6 separate regions of the Homo sapiens genome follow, and all the other regions are linked to region 1. The links are contacts of gene promoters, found by promoter capture Hi-C in blood cells and fetal thymus (Javierre and others, 2016). All regions are on one chromosome and are shown on one strand. The core of a region is centred on a gene start or on the middle of the fragment in contact, and the rest is flanking DNA. Distances in the headings are between cores, read along the strand shown. Region 1 holds the start of C3orf36 (chromosome 3 putative open reading frame 36). Region 2 overlaps BFSP2 (beaded filament structural protein 2). Region 3 overlaps BFSP2-AS1 (BFSP2 antisense RNA 1). Region 4 holds the start of AMOTL2 (angiomotin like 2). Region 5 has its middle 27 kb from the start of LINC02004. Region 6 overlaps RYK (receptor like tyrosine kinase).

The links. The method cuts DNA at HindIII sites, captures the fragments that hold promoters and counts their contacts. A CHiCAGO score of 5 or more calls a contact.
Region 2: a fragment that was not itself captured here is called in contact with the fragment with the promoter of C3orf36 in region 1 in 1 of 17 cell types (endothelial precursors); the score reaches 5.1 in endothelial precursors.
Region 3: a fragment that was not itself captured here is called in contact with the fragment with the promoter of C3orf36 in region 1 in 1 of 17 cell types (activated CD4 T cells); the score reaches 6.9 in activated CD4 T cells.
Region 4: a contact is called between the fragment with the promoter of AMOTL2 here and the fragment with the promoter of C3orf36 in region 1, in 1 of 17 cell types (M2 macrophages). The highest score is 5.1, in M2 macrophages.
Region 5: a fragment that was not itself captured here is called in contact with the fragment with the promoter of C3orf36 in region 1 in 2 of 17 cell types (endothelial precursors and megakaryocytes); the score reaches 7.9 in endothelial precursors.
Region 6: a contact is called between a fragment that was not itself captured here and the fragment with the promoter of C3orf36 in region 1, in 1 of 17 cell types (endothelial precursors). The highest score is 7.6, in endothelial precursors.

What each region holds. Positions count from the first base shown.
Region 1 is chr3:133,928,538-133,931,127 of GRCh38, reverse strand. C3orf36 (chromosome 3 putative open reading frame 36) reads left to right here and starts at 1,316. Exons shown (of 1, transcript NR_161373.1): 1 at 1,316-2,590. The HindIII fragment of the contact is 5,965 bases long and covers 1-2,590 here.
Region 2 is chr3:133,442,288-133,444,877 of GRCh38, reverse strand. The region is part of intron 1 of BFSP2 (beaded filament structural protein 2); the gene reads right to left. All of the region lies in intron 2 of BFSP2-AS1 (BFSP2 antisense RNA 1), which reads left to right. Among named protein-coding and RNA genes, the nearest start is that of BFSP2, 44 kb to the right of the region's middle. The HindIII fragment of the contact is 3,562 bases long and covers 1-2,590 here.
Region 3 is chr3:133,485,191-133,487,780 of GRCh38, reverse strand. All of the region lies in intron 1 of BFSP2-AS1 (BFSP2 antisense RNA 1), which reads left to right. Among named protein-coding and RNA genes, the nearest start is that of BFSP2-AS1, 4.6 kb to the left of the region's middle. RefSeq lists an enhancer at 1-402. The HindIII fragment of the contact is 300 bases long and covers 1,165-1,464 here.
Region 4 is chr3:134,373,139-134,375,728 of GRCh38, reverse strand. It overlaps AMOTL2 (angiomotin like 2), which reads left to right and starts at 1,282. Exons shown (of 10, transcript NM_016201.4): 1 at 1,282-1,387. RefSeq lists enhancers at 1-422, 423-1,222, 1,223-2,022. The HindIII fragment of the contact is 9,314 bases long and covers 1-2,590 here.
Region 5 is chr3:134,285,433-134,288,022 of GRCh38, reverse strand. No RefSeq gene overlaps it. Among named protein-coding and RNA genes, the nearest start is that of LINC02004, 27 kb to the left of the region's middle. The HindIII fragment of the contact is 2,673 bases long and covers 1-2,590 here.
Region 6 is chr3:134,239,886-134,242,475 of GRCh38, reverse strand. All of the region lies in intron 1 of RYK (receptor like tyrosine kinase), which reads left to right. Among named protein-coding and RNA genes, the nearest start is that of RYK, 9.7 kb to the left of the region's middle. The HindIII fragment of the contact is 976 bases long and covers 811-1,786 here.

The sequences.
Region 1 (2,590 bases), core at 67-2,566:
TTTTATTCAATCCTTCTTTTACCCTTCTTGGAAAAAGCGCAAATACAGTGATAACTAAATACCGTATCTCTATCAATTATCCTTTGGCCCAAAGCCCTTTGGGGTGATCCTCCATGATGGATGCCCCATGTAAAGGTGAGGAATCTGATCCCGAGGAAGCAACCATTGTGGCCAATTTCACATAGATAATAGCTGGCCAGGTCTAGACTCAAACCAGGCTGTCCACTTCTCTCTGGTCCAGCCCAATTGCCCCAGCTGAGTCATTCTGAAGAGTCAGCATGGACTAAAATGGTGGGGAGGCCCCTCTTTTCCCACTGATGTTCACTGGCCCATGGGAGGGAAGTGGGGGAATCTCTTGAGGGCCATTAAGGTGGGTAACAAAGGCAAAAGAACCAGGTAACAGTTCATTTACTTACCTTCTATTCAACTAGCAACAACATCACAACTATTCATTAAACAGGGCCAATTTATCCCTATAGCACCATGAGTTAAAGAGAGTTGTGGAGAAAAGAGACAAAGAGGGAAGGGTTTTGAGAAGAAAAGGCCCTGAGAATCCTGCACACAGACCTTCAAGGGAACAGCTCCATCTGGTGACTGCTTAGCAGATTCTTGCTCAAGAAACAAAGCCATATTGTGATTTTATTCAACCACTCTCAAAGATGGAGAGATACAGTTAAGCTGGAGGCTGAAGCCAGTCAGTATCAAATTGATACTAAAATATTATATTGCAGCAAATCCAGAAGAAATACATCCTATCTTTCGCAACCACAGGAAGTAAATACCTGGAAGAAAGGTCCATCTCCTGCCAGTAGCACCAGACACCAGATTCATTATAACCTTTCATCAGAGATTAAATATGGAAACAGATCCTGGAAAAGCCCTTGGCAAATCATAAATGAGAGGAAGTTTTTCTCCATGGCATACCCTGGCCATTCCTCCACTCTCCAGCCACATCATGTCTCCAGCCCTGCTACAACTTGACAGCAATAATAATAACTAAAATGTGCACAGATCTTTACAGTTTACCAAGCCATTAACCCATTTAAAACACTTCTTTAATCAGTAAATCAGTGGGGAAAGGCTTGGCTATGCTGTGGTAACAAACCTCTCGAATCTTAGTCACTTGACACAACAAAAGATGGTATCTCGCTCACAGAACCTGTGGTGATCTGGGTGACTCTCAGGTCAGTGGCTCAGTAGTGCCCCTCTGCCTGCTCAGGGCCTGGAGGATTGGCCTGAGAGCCCCCCCAACCAGTGTCTCAGTAACTCAGACTGTTTGGAACCTGAGGTACCTCCATTTCATTATAAGCTGCCATGATGGATGGGGCAGGGGAAGAAAGTCCTGGAAGATCCCGCACTGCTAAGCAATGCTTTGTCCCAAAGTAACGCTCTTCACTCTGCTCCCAGCCTAGCTGCCGCAAGAGCGGAACAGAATATTCTGTGTGCTCAGGAGAAGAAAAGAGCAGATATGGTTGAGCACTAAAACCCTCTACTGTGGGTAGTGAACCTAGGTGGACACAGTTGCTCACCGGGACACTTAAACCAGCTTTGCGGGGCTGTCGGGGTTGGGAAGCACAGTCTGGAAAGATTTCCCAATGGAGGAAGCACCAATTGTGGGTCCCTGAAGCTGAGGGGATGATGCCCAGGCAAGGCCGAGGCAGTCTGCAGAGGGCTGGGGAGGTGGGAAAGACGATTTTGCTCAGAGGAGGCAGAGATGGGGTGGTGGCTGAGAGAGATGCAGGGTCAAGGAAAGGATGGCTTCAGAGAGGAGAGATTTGCTGGGGCAAAAGGCCACAGGATGGGGAGGCTGCGGGGTCCAAGAGGACAGCTGATGGAGCGAGACCCTGCAGGCAAGGAGGAGATGGGGTGACTCATGGCAGAATCGCACCAGAGTTCCCACAGCCCTGTGCGGCCACTATGACTAGTCCCATCCTGTACATGGAGAAAACGAGGCTCCTTCCAGTTGTCCCTCACGCCTCCCTTGATTTATGTACTACCTGATGTGTATAAGGACAGGTGGTGACAAACACATGGTCCCTACCCTTCAAGGACATATAATCCAGAGCTAAGACAAGACCTTAACACAGGGCAAAGTACTATGCTCTGAGTTCATTTGATGAGCGATGGGAGAACGGGCTTGATCCTAGCCATGCGGGAGAGACTGGAATTCAAGAGAGTCAAATGTGCTGGGAAAGACTTTCTGGGCAAAAGGAATAAGCAAAGGTGTGCAAAGGTAAGGAAGCAGGAAACCTTTGCACATCTTGAGAACTCGCCGGCCAGAGGCCTGTGAAGGAGCGCAGTGGTCAGGCAGGAGAGGCAGTCGGATGCAGGCTGAGACCATCCTGGAGGGTCTTGAGGCTGGCTTACCCCAGGCTGTGAGTAGTGGGCTCAGCCTAGTCCCGGCTCCTGGGTTAGTGCTCACGTGTCTCTCTGCCCCCTCAGGGCCTGGAGGAATGGCCTTAGAGCCCCCACCAACCACGCTCAGGAAGGCATTCCTAGCTCAGAGTACCCTCCTGGAGTCTACACTGGAAGGGGCTCCTGAGTGGGCCGCGCCACACCCCGAGGAGCAGAGGCGCAGTCCTCCCGCGTG
Region 2 (2,590 bases), core at 37-2,536, 490 kb after region 1:
GAGGATTGGAGGAGGCAGGAGAAGATGCCAAAGAACCAGTCGGGAGGCTCTTGCGGTGGTCCAGGGAGCCCATTTTATTAATGATGGTGGCCTGGACGAACGATGTGATCATAGGGTAGGTGGAAAAATGTGGACTAGTTTAAGATGCATTTGGGGGATAGAACAGTCGGTTCTTTGTGGTGCAGTAGTTATGGGGAGAGTGAGGGAAAACAATTAGGGGTGACCGCTCCGTTTCATCCTGAGCTGTAGAGAGCATGGTGGGGCCTTTGCTGATTCTCTTCCTCCCTCATTGGCTGGTTCCTGCATCTGAGTCACAGCCCACCCCTGTGGCACATTATCCCTCTCTTACCACATTTAGTATAAATACTTTGTAGACAACGACAGTGTTTTCTTATTCTGGAAACTGGCTCCTCCATTCACAAGCATGGGTCAGTTGCTTAGAGTAAGTAATTCTAAGATTTGGTTTCCTCCCCCATAAAATGAAGATAATAATACTCCCTTCCTCCTGGGAGAATTAAATGAGCCAAGGTGTGTGAGACTCAGCGTATGTGTGACTCAGCAGATTGCCTGGCACAGAGTAAATATTGCATGAACGGTAGCCATTATCATCATTGTTATTTGTCTTTGTACAAAGCAGTTGTTCAATGAATGTCGAATGAATTTGATGGGTTTGTGCAGTCTGGCACTGATCCTGCTTTACTTTTCTGAAGTGCACAGGCAGTTGAATGAAGACTTCCATCTAGTGGCTTGATATATATATATGTATATATATACATATATATTTTTTTCCTTTGTTTTTCCTGTCCATAGTCATCTGAAAAGTCCTAGTCATTTGTACCATGATGGTGAGGACTTTATCTCTTTCTATAATACTACTCCTGTTTTCACTGCGGATGTAGTTATTAAAATAAATGAGCTGGTGGTGGTGGATGAGAGATTTGACCATCATTGTGTTAAAGGAAAGGCAAATACAAGCAGCGTTTTAAAAAAGGTTATCATTTGGGCCCAAGGGTACAATGAATGGTTTGTTTGGAGTAAAGATATTGGCATTCTGGCAGCTAGAGCTGCAGGTGTGGGGAGGAGGTGGGTAAGACTGAGCTCCTGGGAAATTAAACTCAGCTGGTGCAGTGGCAAGATGCAAGATTCCCTTGGAAACCCTTCCCACATTTATTTGACTTTCAAGTTTAGGATGGATGTTCAGCATAACTTGCTTCTAGCAATAAAGGAATGAGAAATAATTCTCAGTCCCTAGCACCCCAGTGATACTGCTCTTAATAACAAGGCCACCGTATTACCAAGCCCGGCAGATGCTTCTCTGTGCTCATATTGACCTGCTGGTTGCATTTGTCACAGATGTACTTTTCTGTCTCGGCTTCCATGACACCACTCTCTCTGGACTTCCTCCTACTTCATTGACCATTCTTTCTTATTATTCTCTGCTTCACCAGGTTTTTCTTCCTTATCTGACCTCTAAATGTTAAAGTTTTTCAAGATTGGGTCTTGGTGCTTCTTTTTTTTAATCACTAAATGGTCTGATCTATCCACACAGATTTAAATGGCATTGTATGTGCTAATGACTTTCACATTTAAATGTCTATCTCAGAACTTTCTGCTCAGCTCCACACTTGCATACTCACCCTCTCTTTGAGGTCTTCACTTGGCTATTTCTCAGACATCTCAAACTTAACATGTCCCCGAATGAAAATCTAGATAATTTTGGCCGGGTGCGGTGGCTCACGCCTGGAATCCCAGCACTTTGGGAGGCTGAGGTGGGTGGATTACCTGAGGTCAGTTGTTCCAGACCAGCCTGGCCAACATAGTGAAACCCCTGCCTCTACTAAAAATACAAAAAATTAGCTGGGCGTGGTTGCACGCACCTGTAATTCCAGCTATTTAGGAGGCTGAGGCAGGATCATGGCTTGAACCCAGGAGGCAGAGGTAGCAGTGAGCTGAGATCGCACCACTGCACTCCAGCCTGGGCAACAAGAGTGAAAATCCATTAAAAAAAAAAAAAAGAAAATCTAGATAATTTCCCCACAAATCTTCCCTTTCCCCACCACCCCTTGATCCTCTTCATCTCAGTAAACAACCCCAATGTCTACCCGGAAACCAAGGGATCATCTTGATCTCTCACTTTCTGTCATCTCCCACATCTCATTTATCACTGAGTCTAGTCAATTCTACCCCCACAATGTATCTCAAATCCATTTATTTCTCTCTACCTCTCTTGACATCACCCTAGTGCAAGTCCCCATCATGCTCTCCTATCCCATTATAATATCCCATTGTAATATCCTTCCAACTCCCTGATCTGTACCTCCCTCCTCCAATGCATTCTGCATCCTGCTTCCAGAGTGGGCTTTTTAAACTCTTAAAATCATATCATGTCACTCTGATTAAACTAAATTAAAACTCTTCAGAGGGGCTAGGTGTGGTGGTTCACGCCTATAAGCCCAGCACTTTGGGAGGACAGGGTGGGTGGATTGCTTGAGCCTAGAAGTTTGAGACCAGCCTGGGCAACATAGCAAAACCCTATCTCTCCAAAAAACAAAACAAAACAAAAAAACAGAATTTATCCAGGTGTCATGAT
Region 3 (2,590 bases), core at 65-2,564, 440 kb after region 1:
GAACTCCTGACCTTGTGATCCACCAGTCTCGACCTCCCAAAGTGCTGGGATTACAGGCGTGAGCCACCGTGTCTGGCCTTATTTATATTTTTAAAAACAGGATCTCGATCTGTCACCCAGGCTGGAGTGTAATGGCATGATCATGGCTCCCTACAGTCCCCACTTCCTGGGCTCAAGCAATCTCTCCCACCTCAACCTTCCAAGTGATGGCAGTGGCAGCTTATCTGGAGCAGCTGCTGCAAAGACGCTGGCTGCAGTAGGGGAGGCACACCAGGGCTGTGTACTCCAGGAAGCTGGCAAGAGCCGGTGGAAGCTGGCAGGAGCCGGTGGAAGCTGGGAACAGGAGGAAGCCAGGACTCATTCCTGGTTGGAGAGACAGGAGCCCCACCCTCCCAGGTGCAGCTGCAACTGCCCAGCTGCCCTGCAGACCTAGGCATTCCTGCACTCTCGGGGGCCAGGAAGTCCCCCATGGCCCCATAGGCTTGGGAATGCCTGCTCCTGCTGCCTGGCCTCTCTCTGCTCCTGGCACCCACTATGATTGTGGAGCAAAGTGAGGCTGCCCAGCTGTGGCTGCAGACTCGGGCATTCCTGCAGTCTTGGGGGCCAGGGAAGCCCTCACAGGCTTGGAAATGCCTGCTTCTGCTGCCCAGCCTCTCCCCACCCATGGCCGCCCATAGGCCAATCAGCGTGCATTGCTGATCATTCCTCCCCTTTGAAGACCATAAAAACCCTGGACTCAGCCAGACTTCGGCAGACATCAAGATGATCTGCCTGCGGAGAGGAGCTACCCACTGTGGGTCTCCTCTCTGCTGAGAGCTGGACTCTCATCAGGATGACCTGCCTTCAGAGAAGAGCTACCCACTGTGGGTCTCCTCTGAGCTGTTCTGTGGCTCAGTAAAACACCATTTTGCCTTGCTCACCCTCCACTTGCCCGCATACCTCATTCTTCCTGGACGTGGGACTTGGGGTACCAGGGCTGAAAGAGCTGTAACACAAACAGGGCTGAAACACACCCATTGCTCACCACATTGCAGGTGATAAGAAGGAGAAAAGAGAGAAGGAGAGAAGAGCTGTGGCCCTTTGGGGAGCCCAGACCTAGGAGCTCCCCGAACCAGGGCTGTGACACCCTATTTGGGGCTCTGCAGTTACTGGCATCTCCAAGCTTCTGGGCACCACAGCGTTTCCTGATGACAGCTGTAGAAGCTGCTTGCAGTATGCCTGGTCCAGCTGCAGACTCGCAGGGAGCCAGCACCTGTGCCAGCACCTGGAGCTGCCCACCCCACCACAGCCAGTGTGCCTGGCTGTGAGAAGTGGCCAGACCCCACACTTGCTTGCTCACACACCCCTTGCCACTCCATGCCTGGCTCACCCTTGGCTGGAATGGGAATCAGGCCAGTTGCGTGAGCTGAGCACAGCCTGCCAGGCTGAATAGGTGGTATGAGCCCAGCGGGCCTGAGCAAAGCTTGAGCAAAGATGCCACTGACCACAGAGATTTCTGGCCAGAAAAGTGACACCCCATCTATGGGCGTACAACCCTGAAGGGGCCTGATCTTTTTTTTTTTTTTTTTTTTTTTTTTTTTGAGACGGAGTCTCTCTCTGTCGCCTAGGCTGGAGTGCAGTGGCGCGATCTCGGCTCACTGCAAGCTCCGCCTCCCAGGTTCACGCCATTCTCCTGCCTCAGCCTCCCGAGTAGCTGGGACTACAGGCGCTCACCACTGCACCCGGCTAATTTTTTTGTATTTTTAGTAGAGACGGGGTTTCACCGTGTTAGCCAGGATGGTCTCGATCTCCTGACCTCGTGATCCGCCCGCCTCGGCCTCCCAAAGTGCTGGGATTACAGGCGTGAGCCACGGCGCCCGGCCAGGGGCCTGATCTTGTCTGGTCTTGGAAGCTAAGCAGGGTCAGGCCTGGTTAATACTTGGATGGGAGAAAAGCAATGCCCCAAGGATCCTGTGACACACAAGTAGCTGGGATCACAGGTGTGATACACCACATCCAGCTAATTTTTTTAAATTTTATTTTATAGAGATGGGGTCTCCTTATGTTGCCCAGGCTGGTCTCAAACTCCTGTGCTCAAATGATCCTCCTGCCTTAGCCTCCCAAACTGCTGGTATTAAAGGTGTGAGCCACTGTGCCTGGCTGGATGCCCACTTTTAGTATGGTTATTCAACATAACACTGGAAGTCCTGGCCAGAGCAATTAGGCAAGAACATAAACTAAAGGGCATCCAAACTGGAAAGAAATAAATCAAATTGGTCTTGTTCATAGATGACTTGATTTTATACCTAGAAATACCTAAAGGCCCCACCAAAAAACTACTGGAACTGATAAACAAATTCAGCAAAGTTGCAGGATACAAAATTAACACACAAAAATCAGTAGCATTTATATACACCAACAGCAAACAATCTGAAACAGAAATCAAGAAAGCAATCCCATTTACAAGGTACAAAAATATAAAATATCTAGAAATCAGTCTAACAAAGTAAAAGATCTATATAAGGAAGACTATAAAACTCTGAAAAAAATAGGAGAGGACACAAAAAAATGGAAAGATATTCCATGCTAATGGATTGGAAGAATTAATATT
Region 4 (2,590 bases), core at 33-2,532, 440 kb before region 1:
GTGATGGGGAACGGGGACAGCATGTGTCAGAGCGAGCTTTCTGAAGAAGGGGTTTCCATCTAGCAGTGGAAGTGTCCTGGGGGCAGAGGAGAGGATTCCATGCAGGAGCCACAGAAGTGGGTACAGGGGAAAGCCCCTGGCTGGCAGGGGTGTAGGGGGAGGTAAAGAAGAGACTAAAGCAAGGACAGGGTAAGTGGAGAGAGGAGGGCTCCCAGTGTCTGCCCTGTCCATCTAGGGAGCCTGGATTCTGATAGCCAGGGAGGGGTTTTGAGAATGAGAAACCAAGCAGCCCAGTGGTTGATTACCTGGTTCTCACTGTGTGTGACTCTGGGCACGCTGCTTAAGCTCTCTGAGCCCTGGTGTCCTCATTTACAACACAGGGATGATAACAGAACTCCGTTGGAGGGTGCTTGGCAGGGCTGAATCGGATGACTGGGCGAAAAGCCAGCGGTGGCACACCTTGCACTCTGCGTAAAGGGGCGCCTATTATCACCTTGGGGAAGAACTGGACAGAGCGCCTGGCGGCGGGTGATTCAGTTGGGTAGGTGGGTCAAATTGACCGGATTTTCCAACCCAGATTCACACTTCCTGTCGAGACGGTCGTAAAATAGCTGGCGAAGGTGTTTGTAAACAAAAGTGCATTCAAAGGTTGCCGCTGGGGGTGAAAACAGCGGGGGTTAGGGGAAAGAGGCTCTGTGGCTGGAAGCATTCACTTAGCCCGGGGCACTGTCCCAGCCCAGAGGATATGGATGTCTTTGCAGTCCCTCCTCCCTTTCCCACCTCCCCCGGTACACACACACGCACACACACACACACACACACACACAGCCGGAGTCCCCTCCCGCAGCAACCCCAGGACACGCGTGGTACAGCCCTTGCTGTCGTCCCGTCGATGGGTTTAGGGATGAAGGGTGAGAGCGGGTCGGCGACTGGGAGTGGAGGCGATAATGGGCAGAGTTGGATTAAATTGTCTCCAGCAGCTCCGAAGGCAAAGCATGGGGCAGGGGCGGACACACCGCGGCCTGGAGGGCGCTGGGCGCGGAGGAACGGAGCTCGGGGGCCGGGCCGGCGCTCGGCCAGCAGCGCCGCCTCCCCGGAGGAAGGCGGGGGCCGGGAGGAGGGAGCGGGAGAAGGCGGAGGGCGGAGGAGGGCGGTGCGCTGAGAGGTTATTTGTGGTTCGCTTTGATCCCGAGGGGGAACCTGAAACTCTCACATTCCTGGCATAGCAGCCGCCTCCGGCGCGGGCCGACCCTGGGGCTGCGCGCTGGGGCGCGAACAGCCAGAGCGTCGGCGCCACGGCCGAGAACACATCTTCGCCGCCGAGCTGAGCTGGGCCGAGCCGGAGGTTGTGGTGTCTGACTGCGCTGGGCACCCTCGGGCCGCAGCGGTAAGGAAGGCCGCTCGGCGCTCGGGAGAGCGCGCGAGGCCACAGAAACGTGCCCCAGCCAAAGCTGGAGTCTCGGCGCAACCCGGCCTTTTCCGGGAGTCGGAGCCTCGAGGATCGAGCGTCCTCGGGGCGCAGTGCGCCCTTTCGAGGCAGCCGCAGTGCCTGGCAAGGGCCGCTCTGCCCAGGGAGCGCAGCGCGCTGGGCTTTGCGGGGCTCTAGAAACGCGCGGGTCTCTTGGGGCTGGGGGAGAGGGGAGAGGGCCGACTCCGGAGACAACAGCCACAGTGTTTCGGGTTGCAGGTCGGCGGGGGTGGGGGTGGCGGGGGACAGGGATGGAGGCGCCGCTTGGAGCTCAAGTTGCAGGGTCCTGCGGGCTGATTTGGTTAGGTGGGGGTTACAGGTGCCTTTGCCCCCAACTAGTCCAAGAATTCCTCTTTGTCTTCCTTGGAAAATCCTCTCTGGAGCCACGAATTGGCCCTCACTTAGAAAGAATGCAGCCTGCTGTCCAGCCCGGTGACGTCAGCGTTAGAGTATTTGGAAAACAAAGAGGGCTCGAGAGGGAGGGAGGCGGACCCGCGATGCTTAAAGACCTCTCCGGGCCTCGGGCTACCCTCACCGGCTCGCCCCAGGCGTACCAGCGGCCACCGGTGCTCCAGGTCCGCCCGGGCTCGTGGTGGGGCGGGAGCCCTGGCTGGGGTGCCAGAACCTCCTAGCTTGGAGACTGTCTTTGGTTCCTTAGGCGAGCAGGAGCCCAGGCCAAGGCTGGAGACGCGCGCTGGCTTAGAAAGGCGGCCTTCAGAGAGCGCAGCGGGCGAGTGCAGCAGAGGTTCGCGGCCGGGGGCGCGGAAGCAGGTTTTTGTAAAGGCCCAGGCGTTTGATGTCTGAAAGGACGTGAATCTGAGGGGCTTGGCCGGGACAAATTCGCGATGAGAGGCCTTGGAGATGTTCCTTGCTCCCAGTCCGGGCACACTATGGAGCGCCTGGAATCTGTCAGGAAGGCTCCGCATTCCTTCCTGCCGCTCCCCTGCCTTCTCTGTGGGAGTCGGCCCAGAGAGTGATTATCATAGGAAATGCCCGCAGATAAAACTCCAGGGCGAACTGAATCCCATACGAATTGAATCCCATTTGCTTGCTTTGCCTCGGGTAGCTCTGGAGTCTTGCACATCTACCCCTCGTTGTGTGTGGGGGGCGCATGACTGGGTG
Region 5 (2,590 bases), core at 52-2,551, 360 kb before region 1:
AAAGGCATTCCTGAAGGCAAATCTGGAGCTCGGGTAGAAGGAGTTGAGCAAGAGATACAAATTTGGATGAGGTCACTTATGGAGACAATATAGACAGAAAAATGGAGAGGGCACAGAGCTGAGCTCTGGGGCTAATCAATACTTATAGGTCAGGTAAGAAGGAGAAACCAGCAAATGAGGCTGAGGAGCAGCCATCATTGAGGTAGGAGGAATGCCAGAAGAATTCTAGAAGAACTCTATGAAATGCTGCTGAGAAGTGAGGTAAGCTGAAAAAAGAGAAGTAACCATTAGATATGGTAGCAGGCAGGTCCTTGGTGACTGAGTCATGGTCAGTGCTATGATTGGAACCTGTCCCCCAAAGGCCATGTGTTGGAAACTTGATCCCCAATGGAGCAGTGTTGAGAGGTGGGATTTTTAAGAGGTGATAAAGGTATGAGAGCAAAGTTCTCATGAATGAATGAATTAATGTCATTATCCCAGGAGTGGGCTTGTTGTAAAAGCAGGTTTGGCTCTCTCTCGCCTCTCTCTTGTTCTTGTTCTCACCCTCTGTTCACCCTTTACCTTCCACTGTGGGATGTGCAGCAAGAAGGCCCAGATGCAGGCCCCTGAACCGTGGACTTCCCAGCCTCCAGAACTGTAAAAATAAATCTCTCTTCTTTATAAATTACCCAGTTCATGTATTCTGTTATAGCAACACAAAACAAACTAAGACAGGCAGTGCAATGAGCAGGGGGATGGAAGCCAGATTGGAATGGATTAGCAAATGAATGTGAGAGGCAAGGAAATGAAAACAGTGAATTTGATAATGCATTTGAGAAATTATTCGAGGATGTAGAATAGAGAGATGGCTGGGAAGAATCCACAACCCTCATCTCCCCTATCTACGTACAATATTTTTAATTGAGTCTAGCTGTGGTTCAGGAAGCTGTGAAATTTGTGAAAATTGAGTTCATGAGCACAGGTTACTTTGTGTGAAGACTACAAAGAAGGAAGTAATTTGTCTTACATTTTTCATATTTCAAAAATGTATTATCTTTTAACCAGCTAAACAATTGCAGAGGAGAGCATTAGCTAAAAATGTTAAGTCTAAATTAGGGGTTGAGTTTTTTTGTTTGTTGGCTTTTTTATAATTTTTTTTTTTTTTTTAAACGGAGTCTCGCTCTGTCGCCCAGGCTGGAGTGCAGTGGCGCTATCTCCGCTCACTGCAAGCTCCGCCTCCCAGGTTGACGCCATTGTCCTGCCTCAGCCTCCCGAGTAGCTGGGACTACAGGCGCCCCCCACCACGCCCGGCTAATTTTTTGTATTTTTAGTAGAGACGGGGTTTCACCGTGTTAGCCAGGATAGTCTCGGTTTCCTGACCTCGTGATCCAACCACCTCGGCCTCCCAAAGTGCTGGGATTACAGGCGTTGAGCCACCACGCCTGGCCTATTTTTAATTTTTGTGGGTACAAAATAGGCATATATATTTATGGGGTACATGAAACATTTTGATACAGGATGGAAATATTTCGATATAGGATGGATGGATATTACTCATACAATGAGTTATAATCACACCAGAGTAAATGGGGTATCCATCACCTCAAGCATTTGTCATTTCTTTATGTTACAAACATTCCAATTATACTCTTTTAGTTATTTTTAAATGTACAATAAATTATTGTTGACTGTAGTCACTCTGTTGAGCTATCAAATACTAGATCTTATTCATTCTATCTAACTATATTTTTGTACTCATTAATCATTTCCACTTAGACCAACTTCCCCTCCCCCCACCCCCCCCACTGCCAAAACTGCCCTCCCTGGCCTCTGGTATCCATCATTCTGTTTTCTATCTCCATGAGTTCAATCGTTTTAATTATTAGATCCCACAAATGATTGAGAACAGACAAAGTTCTTCTTTCTGTGTCTAGCTTATTTCACTTAACATAATGTCTTCCAGTTCCATCTATGTTGTTGTAAATGACAGGATCTCATTCTGTTTATGACTGAATAGTACTTCTTTGTATATATGCACAACATTTTCTTTATCCATTTGTTTGCCAATGGGCACTTAGGTTGCTTCCAAATCTTGGCTATTGTGAATAGTGCTACAATAAACATGAGAGTGCAGATATCTCTTTGACATACTGATTTCATTTCCTCTGGGCAAATACCCAGTAGTGGAATTGCTGGATCATGTAGCAGTTTTGCCTTCAGTTTTTTGAGGAAACCCCATTCTGTTCTCCATGGTGGCTGTACTAATTTACATCCCCTCCAACAGTGTACAAGGCTTCCCTTTTCTCCACATCCTCACTAGCATTTGTTATTGCCTATCTTTTGGATAAAAGCCATTTTTACTGGGGTGAGATGATATCTCACTGTAGTTTTGATTTGCATTTCTCTGATGATCAATAATATTAAGCACCTCTTCATATACATGTTTCCCATTTATATGTTTTCTTTTGAGTAATATCTATTCAGATCTTTTGCCCATTTTTGAACTAGATTATTAGATTTTTTTTTATTGAGTTGTTTGGGCTCCTTATATATTCTAGTTTTTAATCTCTTGTCAGATGGATAATTTGCAAATATTTTCTCCCATTTTGTG
Region 6 (2,590 bases), core at 49-2,548, 310 kb before region 1:
TTATTAAACAGCATTCATTTGTGAAGGTCCTCTTAAAATGTGCCAAAATAAACGTGTGTGTATTGCTCAGTTACATAATAAACAGTTGTTGAATGATTCTTTTTGTGTGTTCAGCAGTGATAATGCTGAGTGGATTTCATAGGTCTCATTCTTATCTTTTTTTTTTTTTTGAGACGGAGTTTTGCTCTTGTCACCCAGGCTGGAGTGTAATGGCATGATCTCGGCTCACTGCAACCTCTGCCTCCTGGGTTCAAGCAATTCTCCTGCCTCAGCCTCCTGAGTAGCTGGGATCACAGGCGTCCACCACCATTCCCAGCTAATTTTTGTATTTTTGGTAGAGATGGGATTTCAGCATGTTGGCCAGTCCAATCTTGAACTCCTGACCTCAGGTGATCCACCCACCTTGGCCTCCTTTCAAAGTGCTGGGATTACAGGCGTGAGCCACCTTGCCCGGCCTCATTCTCATTCTTATATAAATTTTAAGCTGGAATAGACAGCACACAAGTCTCTAGTTAGGGATCACCTGTAATTTAGGGAGGAGGAGGAAGAGCGTATCTTGCTGTATGCCAGGTACTTTACATATGTTCTCTTTTATCAACCATAGGAAGTCGGTGGCATTGACTGTTTTTTGTTTGTTTGTTTTTAAACAGATAAAGCTGAGATGCTGAGGTTGTGGGCAATTAACAGAATTTGCTGTAGGTCACAGAGATGTGTGGGGCTATGTGACTCCAAAGTGCGTGCTTTCTCTACTGTGCTGCCTTTGAAGGTTGACAGTTGACTTAGTCTTTAACCAAAATCATCTGAGAAGCTTTAACAAACTACAGATTCCTTGACCTACCCTGAGCAATTTGTTGAATTGATCTGAGATGGGGCTCAGGTAAATTAACGTTTTGAATGCCATGTTTAATTAATTACAGGAGGTACAGGTTTTCCACATTTGAACGTCTCTGAAATCAGAACCATGTTATAATCAGTGGGGAGAGTCATCAGTTAATAGCTTTTTTCTTTCTTAGTGGCACAAAAAATAAGGATGTACTTTAGATTAAATGAAATATGATATTATAAAAAGGTGATACTGTAAAGGGAACTTAAATACATAGTTTGTCACCTTTCTTTTTTTTTTTTTGAGATAGAGTCTTGCTCTTTCTCTCAGGCTGGAGTACAGTGGTGCAATCTCAGCTCACTGCAGTCTCTGTCTCCCAGCTTCAAGCGATTGTCGTGCCTAAGGCTCCTGAGTAGCTTGGGACTACAGGCGTGCACCACCACGCGTGGCTAATTTTTGTATCTTTTTTTTTTTTTTTTTGGTAGAGATGGCGTTTCACCATGTTGGCCAGACTGGTCTCGAACTCCTGACTTCAAGTGATTTCCCTCCCCCACCAACCCTGTCTGGGCTTCCCAAAGTGCTGGGATTACAGGTGTGAGCCACCATACCAGGCCTCCACCTTTTTTATGTGCATATGCATGTGTTTGTCACAACTTTCAGAATTGTAAAATTCACTGGTGGTATTTATTATTTGCTTACAGCAATAGCTGTGTAGTAATGCCCTTGCAGGGAAATCATAAAATGAATGAGATATTGTCATTAGATTAAGAGCAATAGCAAGGTTACTTTTCAGCCAAGAAGCTGCAGGCAAGGAGAAATGTCAGTGGTTCTCAGCCTTTTTTTGTGAAAGCCTTAGGCCCTTTCCCTAGAAAAAGGCATGAATGTCCACACATACTAAAATTTGTATACTGTGCTAGGACCTCTAGACTTTTGGGGCCTTTGAGGGACTCCTGATGAAAAGCTTAATGGGTACACCTGAGTGTCACAAAAACTGGTATATGTCATATTCTGTTTTACATCCTAAGATCTGACCTCCTACATGAATTTTTTTGAAAATTTGCATATATTAAGATTCACTCTGTTGAAAAGTTATGTAGGTTTCGACAAATGCATAGTGTCCTATATCCACTACAGTATCATAGACAGTAGTTTGCACCTTTAAAAAGTCCCCTGTGAATGGGGCATTTGTATTTATAAATACTCCCTCCCTTATATTTTAAATAAGGTGCTTTAAAAATGTATTTATTATGGAACATTTCAAAAATTCAAAATAAGGCATAATAATATAATGAATCTCTGTATACCCGTCATCCAGCTTCAGCAGTTCTCAACTCATAGCCAATTCTGTTTCATCTCTACCACCTTACCCCTACTCCACTCATTTGCCCTCACTCTCCTTATCCTCTACTTAGATTATTTTGAAGCAAATCTAGACATAATTTCATAAAAATATTCCAATATGTATATCTGAAAGAAATTCTTAAAAAATCTAAAATAACCATTATTGCACATTATTAAGAAATTAAGAATTTATAAATATCAAATATCTAAGCTGTTGAGCTTTTCCTGATTTATAAATATGTAAATGTATATGTAGAGACTCTTCTTGCCTACGACCTGGATCCACTCTTATCCCTGCCCCTCCCTGCACCACTCAGTTCCCTTGGTGCCAGACTCCTTCTCACCCTGGAGTCTACATTAGATGGCACCTCTGCCTTGCGTTCTTTCCCCAAATCTTTACATGGCTGGTACTTTCTAGATCTCAAC